Regions from separate parts of the Homo sapiens genome. Here region 2 is linked to region 1. Evidence: promoter capture Hi-C in human tissues and cell types (Jung and others, 2019). All regions are on one chromosome and are shown on one strand. The core of a region is centred on a gene start or on the middle of the fragment in contact, and the rest is flanking DNA. Distances in the headings are between cores, read along the strand shown. Region 1 holds the start of AHR (aryl hydrocarbon receptor). Region 2 overlaps BZW2 (basic leucine zipper and W2 domains 2).

The links. The method cuts DNA at HindIII sites, captures the fragments that hold promoters and counts their contacts. A contact is called where the count stands out against the background at its distance.
Region 2: a contact is called between a fragment that was not itself captured here and the fragment with the promoter of AHR in region 1, in 1 of the 25 tissues and cell types used here (small bowel).

The regions. Positions count from the first base shown.
Region 1 is chr7:17,296,406-17,301,566 of GRCh38, reverse strand. AHR (aryl hydrocarbon receptor) reads right to left here and starts at 2,915. Exons shown (of 11, transcript NM_001621.5): 1 at 2,238-2,915. The coding sequence starts at 2,302. LOC101927609 (a long non-coding RNA gene) reads left to right here and starts at 2,247. Exons shown (of 12, transcript XR_007060234.1): 1 at 2,247-2,507. RefSeq lists silencers at 2,241-2,290, 2,331-2,440, 2,491-2,640. The HindIII fragment of the contact is 8,110 bases long and covers 1-5,161 here.
Region 2 is chr7:16,693,703-16,698,863 of GRCh38, reverse strand. It overlaps BZW2 (basic leucine zipper and W2 domains 2), which reads right to left. Exons shown (of 12, transcript NM_014038.3): 8 at 3,860-4,030; 9 at 1,803-1,949; 10 at 678-816. Among named protein-coding and RNA genes, the nearest start is that of BZW2, 50 kb to the right of the region's middle. The HindIII fragment of the contact is 9,548 bases long and covers 1-5,161 here.

The DNA of each region.
Region 1 (5,161 bases), core at 1,666-4,165:
TATATTTAATTGGCTGTCTTTTTAAACAGTCCTATAATAATGCTACAGCATATTTTATCTGTAAATAAAATAAAATGGCTCTCATTTAAGAGGTCAAAGTTAAGTAGGTCTGGATAGCATTTTCAGCTCAAAACAAGATCTATTTTCCCCAATGTTGGCATGTTTTGGGGCTCATTAGGCCACAAACTGGTAGTTTAATTTTAAAACTCAAATTTAATACTAGGTTTAATGACTTCATTTCTAAAATAAACTTTGATTAACTGCATTATAAAGTTAACAATTTTTCATTCAGGTAAAAATAATTTATATAAACACTTTCACTTGATAATGAAAATGCCAGCACTAGCCTATTCTTACAGAGCAAGCTGGTAATATTTAAGGCATCTGTATGATTAGAAGCAATATACGGTGCTCAGCAGAGATCTGATAAACATCTATGCTAACAAAATGTGGGTGAATGGAAAAAATACTTTTGTTATATTATAAGAAATTAATACAAGTATATTAAAAACTAAGTAAGTATAATATTAGGATAATCTAATAAAAAGTACATTTTACGCAAAATAACCAAAATCCATAAATGTTAAACTGTGTAATGAATACAAAATTATGGCATTTGTTTTTGTTTACAAAGCCATCCAGGTCCTTTGATAACACCCTAACTGAAACCCAGTATCTTAAAAACACATCAGGGAGATCTTCATGTTTTCTCACCATACACATAAAACCCATGACACCCCTATTATATATGATGCTAAGTGTATTATTATATTAATAAACACATAGAACAGACATTTGGGATGCCTCCCAACTTTAACCATCAATGACAATGTCAAATAAGACAAACATACTTTAATATAAGAAACCATTCTACAAAATTAAAAGTATTAATAACCGATGTCTCAAACTGCCAAGGTAGAAAACTGCTGGTTTGACAATATTCCCTTAAGACACACTGTACCATAAAACTTCCAAATTTTCATCAGTCTATTTATAGATTATTATCCTCTGTTAATGCCAATTCATAAGTATACTTCTGAAGAACTATGATAACTGAAATTCTGAAAGGAAACTAAAATTTTAGAATGAAACTTTAAACCAATAACTGGTTTTAAATGTAAATCTTAAAGTGTTATTTTTCTGGTTCCCATTAGTGATAGTTGGAGTCTAAGCAAAATGCACACTTCTGATTTGGTCTGAGAAGACGTTTAAGAGTTCTTAAAATTGTTTACGAAAACTTGAAACACATGTAGGTAAAGTAACTCAGAGATCTAGAAATAAAAAAATTGGAATAAACACATGAATACAACCACCTCACAACAGGAAATGTTTTGAGCACGGATAGTTTTTTCTGACACACACAAAAAATTGGCCATCTCACACAAATATTCCACCAAAATCAACCGACAACGACAAAAGCAAGTTTGTACTCACTCAACTAGAAGAAAACTTTGAAGGGGAAAAGAATTAGAGGTAGATGTTAAGAATGAAAACCTCTCTCAAATGCAGTTCTAAATCTTTTATTTTACAGACCCTAAAGCCACCCCAAAAGTGATAAGCAAGCTTCCGAAAAAGATGTCTGAAGAATACAAATCCTCCACCGTATCCTGTCCGTTGCATCCACTCCCACCTGCTACCACTTCTATCCACTTTACCGATATGGTCACGATGAGCGCTACAAAATTGCTGCCAAATAAGTAAATATGAGCGCAACACAAAGCCAGTTGGTGGGGACCAAAAAGTACCTTTAGAGGCACTCAGCCCCTTCGTAAAAGTCAGCATGTGTTTAGCTCTTTAAAACATCTCGCCTTACCAAACTCTACGAAGAATGAGAATTAAGACCGTCCTCTAACCTAACCCATGCGGATATGAAAAGTGGAAGGAGATTTCAAGACAGGTTTATACTAACTAATCCATTAGCCCAAGGCAGATCAGAGCTGTCAACAAATCAGGACCAAATCAGAAAGAACAAAGTTGCAAATGTGAGAGGGTGTGTATGCACTGGTGCGGGGGAAGAGGATGGGTGGGAGGACAATTTTTAAAATGCAATCATTGAAAACGGGAGAATCCAAGTCCTCTGTCTCCCAGCCGGCCTCCAAACCTCGATTCCACGGGCAGTGCCGGGAATGGACCTAATCCCAGGATCGCAGGGATTTGGGGGCGGGGTGGGGCTGCCTCCCGCACCCGCGTGCCTGAGCGCCCAGCCCCCGCGATGAGGACGCGCTCGGGACACTCACGTTTTCTGCACCGGCTTCCGCCGCTTGCGACTGGCGTAGGTGATGTTGGCGCTGCTGCTGTTCATGGTGCCCAGCCGACGGCGGCGGCTACTCCCCGGGCACTGGCGGCCGGGTCCCCGGAACCCGGTGTAGGCTGGGACCACTGCGGCGGCCGGCGCCGGGTTCCGCGAAGCCGCGCCCGCTCCACCTGCGTCCTCTCGGGACAGTGGCGTGGGCGCCGCGCCTCAACGCCTCGGCTCACGCAGGCTTCCGCAGCCCGCGCCAGTACAGGTGAGCTGCCTGGGCCTGGCGCAGTGAGGGTGGGCGAGGGGCGGAGACCCGCGAGCAAGGCGGCGCAGGTGCCGTCTACACCGGCGGAGGCGGCGCGGCAATGCCCGCAGGTGAGGCGGCCCGGGCGGAGGAGGAGCCTGGGCCGTCTATTTAGAATCCTGGCCTGGGTCGCTCACGGTGGCGCCGCGCCCCGTGACCGTCGCCGCGGCCCCTTGGGTGAGGGAGGTGCCGCCGCGCTGCTCCCGGGACTTCCTAAATCCAGGGTGCTTCCCGCCTGCGGAGCTCGGGCGCGGGCCACCAGTCCCGGCTGCTCCCAGCTTCCGTTCGGCTACACGGCTGCCCCTGTTCTGAGCTGGCGGTCCGGGGCACGCTCTCGGAACAGAGCGTCGACGGGACTCCCCAGCCACTGCCTCCCGCCGCCGCGCGCACCGGCTGAATAGCAGGAGCACCCCCGACCCCTCACCGGCCCCGCCCCGCCCAGATCCCGCGTAGCCCCGCCCCGTCCTGCTTGCCCCCGCCCATCTGGATTCCATTCCGTCTTCCTTGAGGGCCCCACCCTCATCCCGGCACGTGATGACGTAGGACGTAAGGACGCCCCCCCCCGCCGGTAGCCATCTTCGTGCATAGGCAAACTTATTGTAGCTAGACTGTACAAAGTATATCAAGATATGCCAAATATTGAGCTTAACTTCACCTGTTTGAGAGACGGTGGGTCAGCTAACTTGTGGCTAAGAATTACAATTAACTGGTAGACAACTGGTAGACAACCAATGGGACTGTATATTTTCCTAGTTGGGAAGGCTTCAGAAGGCCAGATTTGAGTTGAGACTTGAAGGCTAGGAGTTTCCTTGACCTTTTTTGGTGTGCGGGGGAAGTCTTTACAATAGACAGGAATATAGATAATAAGGGGACTATTATGTATTGTGTCATGGAGGACCATGTGGAAAAATATTGGGAGTAATTAACAATATTGAATACTGTTGAGAAATTCAAATTAGTTGAGAACTGAAAATGTCATTCTTGTTTTCTCAATGTGTAGTCACTGATGACTTTCGTGAATGCAGTGTTGGGGTAATGGGCCTGCAAATAACATTGAAGTGGGTACAGGATTGAGCTGAAGATAACAAAATGGCATCCTCAAGCAGGCAATTTTTCTTCCAAGTTTAGCTGTGGATGAGAGACACATCAGATTGTATGTAGGGGGAGTGAAGGGTTAAATGAGGGTTTTCTAGTTTTGGTTTAGTTCTTTAATGGGCGATACTGAGCGGCTTAGAGGGGGTAGAGATAAACTATGTAGGGAACCTGAGGGAAGAGTGAAGGAATGATAGATATTAAGATACCGAAAGCAGGAGGGAATGAGTGCCAAAGCATAAATGGGAGATTAGGACTAATAGATTAGATACTAACAGAAACAGCACTTACAGTGCTTTGCTATTCAGAGTACTCCACAGCTTCTTTTGAGAGTTACAGGAAATGCAGACTCTTTGGGTGTCCTTATTAAATCAGAACCCGAAGTTCACAGGAACTCCCAGGTGATTCAAATGTACATAAAGTTGGAGGAGCAGTTCTCTACCATAGCTGGAGGAAAGAAGGACAGTGGGTGAGATATAGTAGGCTACTAAATTTTGGATCAGAAAAATGAAGGAGATGTAACAAAGAGGGTATTCTAGCATGAGCTACAAAAGAACAATTGTGTTTTGTGGTCGATGATCTTTGTTTTAATTTTAGAAGAGCATAAAGTGAAAGTGATCTGGGAAGTGACAACAAGGAAGTAGATGGACATCCACCCTGTATCCTGTGATAAGAGAAAATAATTAGGCAGTATTGGGGAGACCTTTAGGAAAGTGATAGCCTCAGTAAGCCACCTTTCAGTTTAAGGAAAAAGATGGAGCAAATTCCCAAAGAAGACAGTGTACACTGGGAAAGTTTGATGTTTATGAATTAGCAATTGCAGAGGCAGAATCAACCATCTCTATTTTTCCCTTCTCTTTCATTTCTTCATTTATCTGTGCTTACTTATAGCCATTCTATCTAAAACGTGTAAGTGTAAAAGAATAATTTCCTCCTAGCTAGGAACTTTAAGGGTGAAAAATTTATATCAAAACATAATTTATTGATTCTGTAGCTTATAACTCCTCTTCATAAAAGAGATGTACTAAATGCAATGAACCAATCTTAATTTAGTGATTTAAAAAAATCCTACCCTTTTTAAGGTTGTTGGCTATTTGGTGCAGTCATTTTCTACCTTATTTTGACTTTCATACCCTTATTTTTTTATGGTTAAGTTTAGGATTATTTTCATTATCCAGAAGTCATATGCTATATTATGTTACATAGTCTTAGTTAAGTAACAGATCTTTGCATAATTAAGATTAAAATTGAATATCAACAAAATTCCCAGAATTCATTTTATTTTAATAGTGACATGAACTTACCTTAACAGTTTTGCTGGCATGTGAATACAGTATAGTGTAGTGCCATTTTTAAAAAATGAGCTGCCATTATCTAGAAACTTCCTGTATTGGCACTGTGGAACATGGTTCTCAAAGTATGGTTTGTGTCCATCTGCTAAGATTTAAAAACTTTTTTGTGAGCAGTTTTTTTTTTTGTAGTTACGTGATTTTTATCTCATAATAATTAATTTGGCTATAAGA
Region 2 (5,161 bases), core at 1,730-4,229, 600 kb after region 1:
TTCTTAAGTGTTCCTTTTTCTCCCTCACAAAACTACATAAATGTAGGCCCAAAAAATAGCCTAGGACATTTCTGTATGCTGTAGGTATACAGATTGGGATCGGTTAAAACCTTTAGCATTCATATTTTAGTGCCAGTTGTCATAGCAACCTAATCCTTATAAATACAATGAAAAGACAGTAAATGTGAAAACCTAAAAATAGCCATTCCCTTGGAAAACAGGAGAATGGCTGGGCCAAGTAACTAAAATACAAAGTAAAAAGGCTAATTACTTCAGTAATTTTAAAGTCAGATTTATGGTACCTAAAAGAGTCTGAACATAATATATATACTATTTTGATAATCATTGTTATTAGAGCTAATCCTTACAATTCAAAAACAGGCTCAATTTTATATAATTACATTTTTTTTCCACCAACCCCAAGAAACAATTACCAGTTCATCTACCAATGAGAAGTGCCCAGGGGCCTAAGCAGGGTTTCCAAGGCAACGCATATATGGCGTGTATGCCTCCTCTCTCTACATGGTATGGTTGCCTCAATAAAACTTTCACAAATTAGCATCTTGCTGTCCCTCTCTAAACAGAGCCCCATGACCTCCTCTGCCTCATTGCCTGCTCTGCCTCTCAAAGAGCTTCAGCAAAACACAGAAGCACAGCAGTGGCACGTGGATGGATACCTTTATAAAAGAGAACCACAATCTTCTGAAAGGCTTTCATGAAATGGATGTTGTCGTAGCAGTATTCCTGAACCTTCTGGAGGAGGATCAGCTCTGACTGGCCTTGGGAGCTGAACACGGCCAGCAGGGGAGCATATTGCTAGAACAGAAGTGGAGAGTAAAAGCCGTCACTTGCGTGGGAGGTACAGAGCCGACACTGCTGGAACTATAACAGTAACCTGGAGGGTTGCTTAGAAAAGACTGACTTTCAGGATTGACACCTTTTATCATCATATTGTGCCCAATGGGGTGAGGGGAACAGAACAGTAGGAACAAAGCAGTATAGTCGACCTGTGAGGGAACTGGGAAGAAGATTCACATTTTTTCAATGGCAGAGCCACAGTCCAATAATACAATGGATATTCTATGAGGATATGACCTCATTTTCGAAATATCCCTTAGACATAGCAGGCCAGCAATTATCTTTAATATAGGCAGATTCTCATATTTGGTCTCTTAGTGGGTACAGGGAAGGAATCTTGATGAGCTGCTGGGATAAAAAGCATTCATTTAGAAATATCCTTGACTTTCTGACACTGAGGCATAGCCATTGTTTTTCTGAGACTTACTCAATTCAATACTTATCTCTTCCAAAGGGCCTTCCCTGATCAAAGTAACATGGACAGTTTACTCACTGCTATGTTCTCATGAACGCTGGGTGCAAACTTGGAAAAAAATTAGGAAGTATATGTTTAGTCTGAGTCTAGGGTAATTGTAGTTGGAACCCATTTGTCATACTCTCAATTAAGACAAATTTGGGCCCGGCGTGGTGGCTCATGCCTGCAATCCAACACTTTGGGAGGCCAAGGCAGGAGGATAGCTTGAATGCAGGAGTTCAAGACCAGCCTGGGCAACACAGCGAGACTACATCTCTACCAAAAAATGAAGAAATTAGCCAGACGTGGTGGCACGCGCCTGTAGTCCTAGCTACCTGGGAGGCTGAGGAGGGAGGGTGGCTTGAGCCCAGGAGTTCAAAGTTGCAGTGAGCGCAGATCGTGCCACTGCACTCTCAAACAAACAAACAAACAAACAAAAAAAGCTGCAGTTTGCCCTTGGCTGGGTCAGTTCCTTGCTAAGGGCTGTTACCTTCAGGTGCTTCAGAGCCTGCTCTGCAACAAGTTCTTCCTTCTTGTTCCACTCAACAGCGTTCATTATACATGTCCACAGAAGACCAATCACTGCTGTTTCTGGAAGATCATTCCTCTTCATTTCTTCTTTGACATAAAGCACCACCTACATTACATGGAAATGGGGTCAGAAAGTAACAGGCAGATGGAGGGCTCCCATCTCCCCGCTAGCTGCCCAGTCAATCAAGGTTTTGGGGCAGCTAAGAAACAATCTGCTTAGCTTCTCCTTTCCTTGTCTGCATTCTCAGACTGGAAGAGGGAGAAAAACTATAATGATTTGTTCTCAAAGCAAATTTATTTTTAGTCCCAAAATTAATAGGCTTAGCTCTGGCCAGGAGCTGCTGGATAATGTGGAGTAAGAGAGGATTTTTGTTTCCTCATAGAGAAACCCCTTTGAGTCTAGTAGAGTAGGGATACTTGAGCCAGTTTGACTTTTTGGAGATTTAAAGAAGGCAACAGCGTTGTGAACTTTTATCCCATCCCTAAACTTTAAAACCTCTTGATGGATACCATCTTGGGTTTGTACAGGTCCATTCTCCACAATTTATTCTTCAATGATTACTTTTGATGATCCTTATGCCCCATCTCAGTGAAAAGTTAATTTGTAAATAAATTGTAAGTGCAAAGGCAATTTTTAAATTTCATATACATCAATTCAGCAGTATTCAGCAACTTATTTTCTCCTTTGAATTATGTATAAATATGCAAATTTATACTCAACCCTGAGAGTATGGAATATAGGCTTGCCTAAAATTTATTTGAAAGGCTTTTTCCTTTTAAAATAAAATAATAAATAGAGGTTTGGGCCTCAGAAGTGATTGAAAGTCATCGTATATCTCCAGCATACTACTTTGTGAGTAGTAGTAACACCTTTTTTTTCCCTCCCTTTTCTTTTTTGCTGGAAACACATTGCTTTCTTGACTTCTGGCCTGGAGTGTAGAAATGCCAGCAGTGACTTGAGCAGCCTTCAAAAGCAGAAGGAGCCGGGCAGTCCCAGTCCCTGTGCTGGCTGGAGGAAGCCACATAAAAGTGTGACATCCTGGCATCTACAAGCATCACAAGGCTTTTTATGTTTGCTTCTTTTCCCCATGGAAAATAATGTACAAATTCTTGCTTGGAGAAATATGATTAAATATACTGCTATCCTTAATACCATGAGACTTAAGAATATTTGTCATTCCAACACCTCCACCTGCTGGATAGTATCAGTCCTACATTCTCCAGGCTTCAACCATGTGAGCTGCCAAGCAGGGCTTGGAGCATGGAAGGAGGTGTGGGTCAGGCATTTTAGAGCACGTGGAAAAAAAGAAAGGACGCTTTATATTAATTTTTAAATTGTTGCATGAAAGATTTTAAAACTTCAAATAGAAAGCTCTCTCCAGATACACTAAAAATAAAAAAAAGATATAGTCATTGCTTTGTGAACTATAGCATGTATATATAAACTATGTATATGCGTATTATAAAAAATATAGCTTTTACATTATAGGGAAACACAGCTCTTCCAAGTGTGAGTGGGATTAAACAAGTCACTGATCCAACTAGTCTTTTCCCATGACAGGAATTCAAACTTTTTTCAAATAAAAAGCCTGTTACATATTCATACAGAGTGATGAACAAAAAATCCAGTGTTAATTCCAAACACTAGACAAATGCTTAATCAGGTTAGATAACCTGCAACAAAATTTTAAAACTACCATATAATGGGCTATACTGATAGTGGATGGTCAAATCTCTTTGACAGATGAAATATTTTGAAAATCATAGCAGCCTGGTAAAATAAGTCAGTTGTGTGGAAATCACTATTAATTTCTGGACCATCCTAGAGTGTTAACAAAAATGGAGGATTCTAAATCAATACTTTGAAGCTGAGTTAATTTAAATGGTAGGAATAAGTGGACAAAGTTTACAGCAATAAGCATAGGACAGACTTGTTAAGGAAAGCCTTTGCTACACAGCCCATGTAATTCCTCTCATTCATGTGTATTGAGGTGATGTCTGCCCGTGGTCTCCCACCTCCTTGATCGGGCATTCCTGAGAAAGACGCTCCTGGAGCTCCTTCTGCAGTTCCTTCCTGGTGCCCAGGGACTGCTGGACTCGGAGGAAGTCGGAAAGCTCCTTAAGACCTGCGTCAGTGAAGTATTTAGCAAAATGATCCACACTCTGTCTGTTAACTGGAAAGAGTTCCTGAAAAAGGGAAAAAAGACTGCTATAAAACAAGCCATTCAAATTTCAGCAAGCATAAAGGACAAAAGTCTTCATTTCACTTAGAATATCTCACATTTGGAAGAAAAGAATAAAGACTGTTTTACAAAACAACAAATCTCTGGTATATTTACTGAGCTAAACATCTTCTGAAATCAGGCAGTTTCACAAAGAAAAAGAAAAAAAGGGTAAGCAATTGAGATAAACTTGGACCCTACTGTGGCAATACTGAGAGATGAGGCTTTTAAAGAGTTACTGGATTATAAGGGCTCTGCCCTCATGAATGGATTAATCCATTCATGGATTAGTGGGTTATGTTGGGAGGGGACCTGGTGGCTTTAAAAAAGAGGAGGGGAGACCTGAGCTAGCACACTCAGCCCCCTCGCCATGTGATACTCTGAGCCTTCCTGGGACACTGCAGAGTCCCCACCAGCAAGAAGGCCCTCACCAGATGCAGCCCCTTGACATGGGACTTAGCCTCCATAACTGTTAAGAAATAAGTTCCTTTTCTGTATAAATAACCCAGTTTCAGGTATTCTGTTATAAGTAATAGAAAAGGTCTAAGACACCTACCCTACCAACTCTAGTTTATTACATAATTCTGATGGAAATTTTCAAAAAGAGCAATATACCATAGCTGCTCTCATATTTTCACCTCATTTCCATTTTACCCTACACAGTTTGGCAGAATCTCAGTAACACTTAGTCATGATCTAATCCTGGGTGAGTTCAACTCCCATCTATGAAATTAAGATGATTTTCAAAGTTCTCACATTTTTCAGACTGCTGCAGGGTCTAAAAAATATATCCAAGCTTTTGTATTGGTTAGACTTGCATATATATGGCCAATGGCTATGTGGTTCCAGAAAGAGCCTCAGTAGATCTGCAATGGGTTTGCCACCACCTATAGGAACACAGCTGGAGGGCTCCTATGTCAGGATTCAAATTTCAATGTTCTATCATCCTATTAATTTCCCCTGTTGAGTCATATGTTTCAAAAATGTCAGAAGAGAGCTGGTGGGAGCAGCTATCAAACACGCATTCATAATAAAGCAAACATTTTATACCACACTGAAACTGCGTCACTGATATTTCCTCTACTGCTCCACATCT